Regions from separate parts of the Homo sapiens genome. Here regions 2 and 3 are each linked to region 1. Evidence: promoter capture Hi-C in 16 types of primary human blood cells and fetal thymus (Javierre and others, 2016). All regions are on one chromosome and are shown on one strand. Each heading gives the region's core, a stretch centred on a gene start or on the middle of the fragment in contact. The rest is flanking DNA. Distances are from core to core; before and after follow the strand shown.

Region 1 (3,326 bases), core at 402-2,901:
TGGATGGAAATGGGGTGGCTACTGTTGTAGGCAGACCTCGAGCAAAAGCACTGCGGATTTCTCTTCTTCTTAAAGGCGTAGCCCGGAGAACAGCTTTGACAAGTTGTTTCTGGCCCAAGTTGTCAAAACCAGTCTGTATTTGGCTAAAGTTCATCTGCATTCTCTATTTAAAAAAAATTTCCAAACCTAACCTGGATAGCTGCCTCACGATGTTGAATCACTGGCTACAACCGAGTCACCATTTTACAAGACTATGGTGTTGAAACCTGAGCCCCTAATTTAAGTGTCCTCCTCAGGAGTTCCACTGAGGAAAGTCCTTTTTCGGAAACCACAGAAGGAAAACTCAGGGTTAGTGGTACTCATTACACTGGAAGGAGCTTTTCCACTTGGCTGCATTGTTTATTTACACACTGTAAGTTCCTATTTTGGACACTCTTCCCTTAATTATGAGAAGAGGGGTTTCTATTATATCATCTGGCCGGATGTATTGTTGACCCCAAAAATGCCACATAACGGTGCTTGGGACATGGGGAGATGCATGGTTTAGAGATTTCAGCATAAGCACTTGGCATCTTTTTTACAAGCAAGACACCTATCTTACCATGATTTGCAAAAACAATCAGATCACTGAGAAATCTCATTCCCGGGGTAGAAACCATCTCCTGCGAGAAGGAGCTGGCACGGAGTGTCTAACCGTGCAAACAAAACCGGCTTCCAGGTTGACAAGTTGTAATTGCTCTTCCCCAGTTGGCTCCGGGGAGCTTTTTCTAAGACTGACGCCCCCCATGTTTGGTGACATTTTATATACGCCACCTAACAAACTTCTATGACCTGTCTTGCTAGGGTGGGGGGAATAAAAAGAAAAGACGACAACAACCTAGAAGGAAATAACCCATTTCCTCTGCAAAACCATCTTCCCTTGCTACGGAACTGCTTGGCGACACCAGCGCTTTCCTGCGGTTGGCAGCCCGGGAACCTTGAAGTTGCGCGGGACCGGCCGTCAGCCGCTGACAGTTCTGACAGTCCAGGTGGAGGACCCGCGCTCTGCCGGGAAATCCCCGGCTTCCCGCTGGGGACAAACGGTGGCCGCCGCAGGGAGTGCTGTGTTTGGGGGTCGGGGGAGGCAGGGAGCCCCACTTTCCCTCGCGCTGCCTCAGTGCCCGGCCTGCGTGCGCGCGCCAGCCTGGGGTAGGAAGGTACCTCTGACATTTCGCTCCTGCGACGCGCAGGCAACTTCATGCGGAAAATCCGCGGAGGGGCTGAGCCTGGAGCCCCCGACTCTTCCGACGTCCCGGAGCCCCCAACCCGGGGCAGGGGGCACTCAAAGGCCAGGCGTGCCTTTAGGTATCTTCCGGGACCCAACTGTACCAGGGTCACGGACATTCAACTCTCAGCTACCCACACCGGCGCGAGCGCGTCATCCCGGTGGCCCTGGGCATTCCTAACTGTCAGAGCGAATATTTTTGGGAATAACCTCTCCAAAATGTGAAGATGTTCAGTGGTCTCCTCCGCCTCCCATCACAAAAAAAGGCCCCAACACATATTTTTTAAAAAACAACCCACATCCCACAATCAAACTTTTAAACATGTAAAATAATAAACCAACTCACCAAGTTAGAAGGGAAGAGAATAAACCCCCAAAGGCTCCCAATAAGGCGGAGGCTTGGCCTCCCCCTCCTTATAAGCCGCTCGGTAACATGAGAAAAGGATTAACCCCTTAGGGGGCGGGCCCGACTCTAGCGCAAGTTGGCTCGGGCTGGTGAGGCCCGAGCGCCCGGGCCCTCCACCCACTCCCGCGACTCGGGCACCCGAGCCACACCCTCCCCCCGCCCCCCACCCCGGCCGCCTGCGACCCGGGCCGTGCGTGCTGCCGCCCGCGCCCCGGCCCCGCGTCGCTGCCTAGCTCTTATCCTATACCGGCTGCAGCCGGTCTCCGCCGGCCTCGGGGGCGCGCCGCCGCCGACCATGTGCTGCGAGCGCTGAGCGCAGCCAAGGAGGGGGCCTGCCTGGCGCGCGCGCGCCGTCCCACGTGGACCTGAGCCGCGCCGGTCGCGCGCCCGCCAGCCTGCCGCCTGGGCTGGGGGTCACGAAAGGTAACCGCGTCGCGGTCCGGGGCCGGGCCGCCCCCGCCAGCGCCGCCGGGGTCCTTGGCACAACGCCCCGATCTCCCAACCCGGGTGCGCCTCTGCGCGCGTGACCCGCCCAGACCCCGGAGCTTTGCTGCAACGCTAGTAGGAGCGCGAGCGTGCAGGGTGTTGGGGGTGCCTGCATCCTGTCTCGGAGCACCTCGGCCAGGCGCGAGCGCGCGGGTCCCCGTCCCCACCCCCGGGCGCCTTCCCGGCGCGCCCACCGCCCAGTCCCGCCCGCGCCCTGAGGATTTAGGGATTTAGCGGCGAGGGGGAACACGCGCGCGCCGGGGCTGATCCCGCGCGGCGCTCGCGGCTGCGGCGGCTTCGCGCCCGCCCCGGGCAGAACAGGTTCCTTCCAGTTTGGGTGTGAGCTGCGCGCGCGGCGCCTGAGTTCCTCCTGCAGCGCCCACTTCCCCCAGTTTCGTCAACTCGCGCACCCCCACAGTTCCCCTTCCGGCAGTGGGGAGGGAGTGTCGCAGTGGGCCCCAGGGAGCGAGCGGCCGGGCCGCTGCGGGTGCCTTGCTTCCCCCACTTTGCTGCACCGGCAGCAGCGGCAGCAACAGCATCCGCGTTGCGCGAAAGGAATGTGAGCAGCCGGGCTGAGTCAGCATCCCCGGCCCGGGGCGCGCGCGCACCCTCCAGGCAGTGGCGGCGTCGGCACAGGTGCATGGCTCCCATACCCGCGGGGAGCCCTCTGTAAGGGACCTGGAGGTTTAGACAGTCCGTGCCCCTCATCCCGTAGTCCCCGACCCCAAGGTCACCGTGAACTAAGCGGATGATGCACGCGAAATCTCAGGAGCTCCTCATGGGGACAAAGCATGTGTCAGATCCTAGACATTTCAGAGCCTGCGGGGGCGCAAACTTAGCTTCTTGGTCTCTACCTCACATCCCGAGGGCAAATTTGGAAACTGCTCGGAAGCAAAGGCCATGTTATTTGCATTCGTATGCAGACTTTGGCGCCGGCTGCTGCCTTCATTGGGGTTCGGAGAATGTGGTTCTGATGTCAGAAACTCAAGAGAGCCTAGTTTGGGAGTGCATGCACGGAGGGTCGCCACCGGGAGGAGTCGGCGATCTGAATTTTAATAAAAATCCTTCCTTGCTCGCTGAGTTCTCTCACCATTTTGGGATAGGCTCTCCTGAGTTAAATGCCATCCTTTGCCGTTGACAAGTTCTGGTTGTGTAAGTGGGGAGAAGATT
Region 2 (3,326 bases), core at 352-2,851, 970 kb after region 1:
GTGTGGCTTTATTTCTGGGTCCTCCATTCTGTTTCATCGGTCTACATGTCTGTTTTTGTACCAATACCATGCTGTTTTGGTCACTGGAGCCTTTATAGTATAGTTTGAAGTCAGGTAATGAAATGCCTCTGGCTTTGTTCTTTTTACATGGATTCCTTTTTTTTTTTTTTTTTGATAAAAAGTCTCTCTCTGTTGCCCAGGCTTGAGTGCAGTAGCACGATCTTGGCTCAACACAACCTCTACCTCCCCGGTTCAAGCGATTCTCCTGCCTCAGCCTCCTGAGTAGCTGGGACTACAGGCGCATGCCACCACGTCCAGCTATTTTTTTGTATTTCTAGTAGAGATGGTGTTTCACTATGTTGACCAGGATGGTCTTGATCTCTTGACCTCGTGATCCACCCGTCTCGGTCTCCCAGAGTGCTGGGATTATAGGCATGAGCCCCCGCGCCCAGCTTATGTAGGATTCCTTTAGCCATCTGGGTACTTTTGGGGTTCCATATGAATTTTAGAATAGCTTTTTAAAATTCTGTGATGAATAATGTTGGTAGTTTGATAGGAATAGTGTTGAATCTGTAGATTGCTTTGGGCAGTATGGCCACTTTAATATATTGAGTCTTCTAATCCATGAGCATGAAATTTTTTTCCATTTGCTTGTATCATCTCTGAATTCCTTCACCAATGTTTTGTAGTTCTCCCTGTAGAGATCTTTCATCTCCTCTGTTAGATGTATTCCTAGGTATTTTAATTTTTTGTGGCTATTGTAAATGGAGTTGTGTTCTTCATCTGGCTCGCAGCCTGCCCATTATTGAGATAGAGAAATGTTAAGCTATATTTTAAACTATGGAATAAAAGAGCTTATCCTTTGTGAAATTATTTTCAGGCATAAGAAAAACGAAGGAAGGCATTTTAAGGAAGGAATATATTAAAACGTTCCTGATTACACCCAAGTAGGTGGTCTACATGAAAGATCACTTTAGTTTCAAGAAATTATTTTAAAATGGTGGTAAGTTATTGTTTTTAAAAGTCACTTATCATATAAAATGATTACATGTATTAAATACCAGACACACTTGCTCTATTTTCTTTAACAAATTAATAACCAAATTATGCAATAAGTCAACTGTCATGTTTATAACAGATTTTAAATAACATTCTATCTATAAATAGCATGAGTACAACTAACGTTAACTTACCACAGCAAGGAACTTTACAGTATAAAAATATAATCCATAATGAAATGCCAATAAGCTTCCTAGCATCAAAATAAGAATGATAAAAAATAAGGGGATATCAACAACAGCTTGTCCAATCCAATATGCAGATGGCAAAAGACCTGAAAGTTTAAGTTGAGTATAAGCTTTGATCTAAAAAAAATGAAAAACAATTTATTATAATTTTAGACACTTTAGAAACACACAAATAAATTAGTAAATTATTGTAGATCTCTTAATTTTACATCAGCAAAACCAAAAAGGTTACATTCCAGGCTTATAGGTAATAAAAGTCCCCCTCACACTAAATACAAATTCCATTTAGCCTTTAATTTGGCTCATTATTTCTGAGATGTAACAATTTCAACAAAATTTTTAAGAATCAGAATACAGTAGTGCTGCCAAGAAACTGAGATTAAAATAAAGCAAAAGGTGTCATGGCGGTTGGGGTTACAGCTATACAAATAATAAATAGCCAAAACATTACTACTTTTGAAATACTGTGGAAACAGATGGGAAGACATGTTTACACAGAAAAAGAATTCTCAGTTTTAAAAATGAACCTTTCATAAATAAAAACACTAATAAATTGCCAAGTATCCTTTGGATTTACATAAGGCTTTCAGCTTAAGTGAAAGCTTTTGAAATGTTCAAAGCCTTTTGTGTACACTGGTATAGCATATAAATCTAAGGTGTTATTTACGTCACAAGTTTGTTAATGGTAAACTCAAATGATCATAGTTTTCCTATCTCATGTTCTCATTTAATTTGAAATTTCTAAAATATTTCATAAATCCAAATACCTAACAATTTTATTTAGTTGATTTTTGTCATCTATAAAAATATCTACTCCTAATAACTGAAGGTATTATATGAAAGAGCTGTCCACAGAGATAAAGGAAGCATGAAATATAAAGATTAGTTAAGAAGAGGAGAAATGAACAAAATTGGCAAGTTTTCTGTTCAATGAATTATGAGAACATGAGACACATGTAAATTCTAATACAAGAATAAAAACATAAGCTAAGGCAAATGCAATTATTTTGGATAATTCAAACTTTTGTCATTCACACACTGCTGGTAGGGATAACATAAAATGGAACACTCATCTTGGAAAATAATTTGGCAATTTCTTATAAAATTAACATGTATAATTCAGCAATTGCACTCTTGGGCATTTATCTCAGAGAAATGAAAATGATGTTTACACAAAACCTGTATGCAAATGTCCACAGCAACTTTACAAAAGCCAAAAACGGAAAACAATCCAAATGTTCTTCAACAGGCAAATGGTTAGAGAAAGTGTGATGTATCCATACCATGGAATATTACTCAGCAATGAAAAGGAATGGATTATTGATAAATACAAATAGGATGAACTTCAAAAAAAATGCTATTTGAAAAAAGCCAATCCCAAAAGAAAACTTATTGTGATGCCATTTTACATTTTTGAACTATCAAAATTACAGAAATAGAGAACAGAGTAGTGGTTGCCACAGGTCAGAGAGGCTAGGAAAGAGCAAAAAATGGGAATCTTTTTGGTGACAGAAATGTTCTGTATCTTGACTGTGTCAATGCCAATACCCTGTTACATTGTACTATAATTTTACGAGATGTTATTATTGGGACAAAATGTAAAGAGTACACAGGATCTCTCTGTCATTTCTAACAAACAAACATGAATATACAACTATCTCAAAATAGAAACTTTAATTAAAAATAAGTTAGTGGGTGCAGTGCACCAGCATGGCACATGTATACATATGTAACTAACCTGCACAATGTGCACATGTACCCTAAAACTTAAAGTATAATAAAAATATATATATATATAAATAAAAAAATTAAAAAATAAATAAATAAAAATAAAAAATTTATATTGGAAAAAAAATGTTTCAGTTGAAACAAGAAAGAAAATGCAAATGTCCAGTAAATTTTATTATTGTGCAGTGGGTTATGGATTTCTATATTCCTTATACTTTTCTATAATTTATACATTACTACAATGAGTATATTTAACAAAAATTGAATATTATTTTAAAAATAGAGATATGTGTTACTTTTATAGTAAACAAATAACAAAATTTTTATTAGAATGTATTTATTTATTTTATT
Region 3 (3,326 bases), core at 418-2,917, 840 kb before region 1:
TCTTGACAGATAGCAAAGAAAAAAATCTTCTGTCTTTACCTTGACAAGACATGTACCATTGCTGGGAGGTTTTGCTTGTATGAGAACTTCAACGTTAGAATCTAGACATCTCGGAGAATTGAAACTCAACAAGTTTCTCTGTTTTGGGGTGGAGAAAAAGGACAAAAAGTTGTCATATACAGCTAGCTGTCCAAACAGTCAAATACGAAAGCTAATTTATCTTTTAAAAGGTTAATTCTTTGATGCCTCTATCACAGTTAGTGTTAAAATGAAAGCATTGGAAACAAACTCTTTTTCTGTTAGCTCAGATTTTAAAAAAATTCTTTTTGCAGAGATGGGGGTCTCACTATGTTGCTCAGGCTGGTCTTGAACTCTTGGCCTCAAGCGATCCTTCTGCCTTGGCCTCCCAAAATGTTGGAATTACAGGGGTGAGCCACTGAGCCAGATTTTGAATATTTTAATTACTTAACTGCTTGTCTGTCTGGCAATGAGATAAGCGCAGTAGCCAGTGATTACCAACAGTTAAACAGAAGAACAAGTCACATAAACAACACTTATACTTCCTGTAAACCCAATTAAAACCACATTTCAGGTTTGCTCTTATGATTTAGAAGTAAATTTAGAATCAGTTTCATGAATCTTGCAGTATTTTTCAAATTAATGTCTTTAGGCATTTGGACAATGGGCTGTGTGAATGCAAACTGCGTTTTCTTCAATTGCTATCAATTAGAGACAGTTAAGAACTCAACTGATGAAGAAATAGCCACCTGAAAGTGAGCCCACAGGCAAGTCACAGGCCCCTCTTCCTCCTGAAGGTGCACGGGAGACTTCGTTAAAAAAAAAAAAGCTGTAGTAAAATACGTATAAGATAAAAATTTACCATTTTAAGTTTCTTTTTTTTGAAGACGAAGCCTTGCTCTGTCACCCAGGCTGGAGTGCAGTGGTGTGATCACAATTCACTGCAGCCTCACCCTCTCCGGCTCAAGCGATCCTCCCACCTCAGCCTCTCGAGTAGCTGGGACTACAGGCGCACACCACCGTGCCCACTAATTTGTTGTAGTTTTAGTAGAGACGAGATTTTCGCTGTGTTGCCCAGGCTGGTCTCAAATTCCTGGGCTCAAGTGATCCACCCGCATCAGACTCCCAGAGTGCTGGGAAGGTGTGAGCCACCATGCTCGGCCCATTTTAAGCATTGTAAATTGTACAATTTAGTGGCATTAAGTATTTTCACAATGCTGGGCAACCATCATCACTGTTCACTTTCAGAACTTTTTCATCATTCCAAATAGAAATTCCACCCATTAAACACTAACTCCCCAATGTCCCCTTCCCCCACCCTCTGGTAACCTTTATCCTATGTTCTGCCTCTATGAATTGGCCTATTCTAGGTACCTCATAAAAGTAGAATCAATATTATGTGTTCTTCTGTATCTGGCGTCTTTTTCTTAGCATGTTTTCAAGGTTCAGCTGTAGCCCATATCAGAATCTAATTTCTTTTCCTTTTTTTGAGACAGAGTTTCACTCTTGTCACTCAGGCTGGAGTGCAGTGGCACGATCTTGGCTCACTGCAACTTCCGCCTCCTGGGTTCAAGCAATTCTCCTGCCTCAGCCTCCTGAGTAGCTGGGACTACACGCGCGCGCCATCACACCCAGCTAATATTTGTATTTTTAGTAGAGACGGGGTTTTGCCATGTTGACCAGGCTGGTCTCGATCTCCTGACCTCAGGTGATCCACCCACCTTGGCCTCCCAGACTGCTAAGATTACAGGTGTGAGCCACCGTGCCTGGCTAAAAATTCTTTTTTGCACATGATAAACTCACCTATCTTAAGTGTAAAATGAATAAGTTTCAGTAAAACAACAAAAGCTCTTAAGTTTTAGTAAATCCATACATCTGTGCAGCCATCACCGCAGTCCAGTTTTAGAACTTTCCATTCCCCCCTAAACATCCTCCTTGCCTGTTTGTGGTCAGTTCTTGCTCTTACCCTGATCCCCGGCAACTAGTGATGTGATTTACGTCTCTATAGTTTTGTCTTTTCTAGTAATTTCGTATAAAAATTATACAACATGTAGTCCTTTGAGACTGACCTTTTTTTTTTTTGTTTTGTTTTTTTTTGAGACAGAGTCTCGCTCTGTCGCCCAGGCTGGAGTGCAGTGGCGCGATCTCGGCTCACTGCAATCTCCGCCTCCCGGGTTCATGCCATTCTCCTGCCTCAGCCTCCAGGGTAGCGGGCACTACAGGTGCCCACATCACGCCTGGCTAATTTTTGTATTTTTAGTAGAGATGGAGTTTCACCATGCTAGCCAGGATGGTCTCAATCTCCTGACCTCGTGATCCGCACACCTCGGCCTCCCAAAGTGCTGGGATTACAGGCCTGAGCCACCACGCCTGGCCGAGACTGGCTTCTTTTACTCAACATAAAGTTTTTGAGTTCATTCGTGTTGTTGAATGCATCAGTGGTTGGGTTTTTTTTTTGTTGTTGTTTTTTGAGATAGGGTCTCACTGTGATCACCCAGGCTAGAGTGCAATCACAGTTCACTGCAGCCTCCACCTCCTGGGCTCAAGTGATCCTCCCAACGTCATCCTCCTGAGTAGCTGGGACTACAGGCACATGCCACCACACCTGGCTAATTTTTGTATTTTTGTTTTGTATAGACGGGGGTCTCACTATGTTTCCCAGGCTAGTCTCGAACTCCTGAGCTCAAGCAGTCTGCCTGCCTCAGCCTCCCAAAGTGCTGGGACTACAGGCGGGAGCCATCATGCCTGGCCAATAGCTGGTTCTTGTTTTACTGCTAATAGCATTCCATTATAGGGATGTACCACATTTTGTTTATTCATCACCAGTTGATAGAGATTTGTTTCTAATTCGGGGCTACTGTGAATATTGCTGCTGTGATCATTTGTATACAATTCTTGGATGGACATGTGCTTTCGTTCCTCTTGGGAAGATACTTTAAGGAGTGGAATTGCTGGGGTTTTTTTTTTTTTTTGAGATGGAGTCTCACTCTGTCGCCAGGCTGGAGTCACTGCAACCTCCTCCTCCTGGGTTCAAGTGATTCACCTGCCTCAGCCTCCCAAGTAGCTGGGACTACAGGCGTGCGCCACCACGCCCAGCTAATTTTTGTATTTTTAGTAGAGACAGGGTTTCACCATGTTGGCCAGGATGGTCACGAACTCCTCATGATCCACCCACCTCGGCCTCCCAAAGTGTTGTGATTACAGGCGTGAGCCACTGGGCCTGGCCACTGGGTCTTATATTAAACTTATGTTTAACTTATAAAGAAATTGCCAGGCTGTTTTCCAAAGTAGTTCTTGCATTTTTTTAC

What was found. The method cuts DNA at HindIII sites, captures the fragments that hold promoters and counts their contacts. A CHiCAGO score of 5 or more calls a contact.
Region 2: a contact is called between a fragment that was not itself captured here and the fragment with the promoter of SLC16A6 in region 1, in 1 of 17 cell types (erythroblasts). The highest score is 5.6, in erythroblasts.
Region 3: a fragment that was not itself captured here is called in contact with the fragment with the promoter of SLC16A6 in region 1 in 1 of 17 cell types (non-activated CD4 T cells); the score reaches 6.3 in non-activated CD4 T cells.

Annotation. Positions count from the first base shown.
Region 1 is chr17:68,289,476-68,292,801 of GRCh38, forward strand. It overlaps SLC16A6 (solute carrier family 16 member 6), which reads right to left and starts at 1,652. Exons shown (of 6, transcript NM_004694.5): 1 at 1,611-1,652. It overlaps ARSG (arylsulfatase G), which reads left to right and starts at 2,020. Exons shown (of 12, transcript NM_001267727.2): 1 at 2,020-2,093. RefSeq lists silencers at 1,788-2,477, 1,844-2,018 and an enhancer at 2,878-3,107. The HindIII fragment of the contact is 8,812 bases long and covers 1-3,326 here.
Region 2 is chr17:69,263,542-69,266,867 of GRCh38, forward strand. ABCA5 (ATP binding cassette subfamily A member 5) reads right to left here. Exons shown (of 39, transcript NM_172232.4): 24 at 1,194-1,364. Among named protein-coding and RNA genes, the nearest start is that of PRO1804, 30 kb to the left of the region's middle. The HindIII fragment of the contact is 492 bases long and covers 1,356-1,847 here.
Region 3 is chr17:67,449,542-67,452,867 of GRCh38, forward strand. The region is part of intron 1 of PITPNC1 (phosphatidylinositol transfer protein cytoplasmic 1); the gene reads left to right. Among named protein-coding and RNA genes, the nearest start is that of MIR548AA2, 20 kb to the right of the region's middle. The HindIII fragment of the contact is 3,703 bases long and covers 1-3,326 here.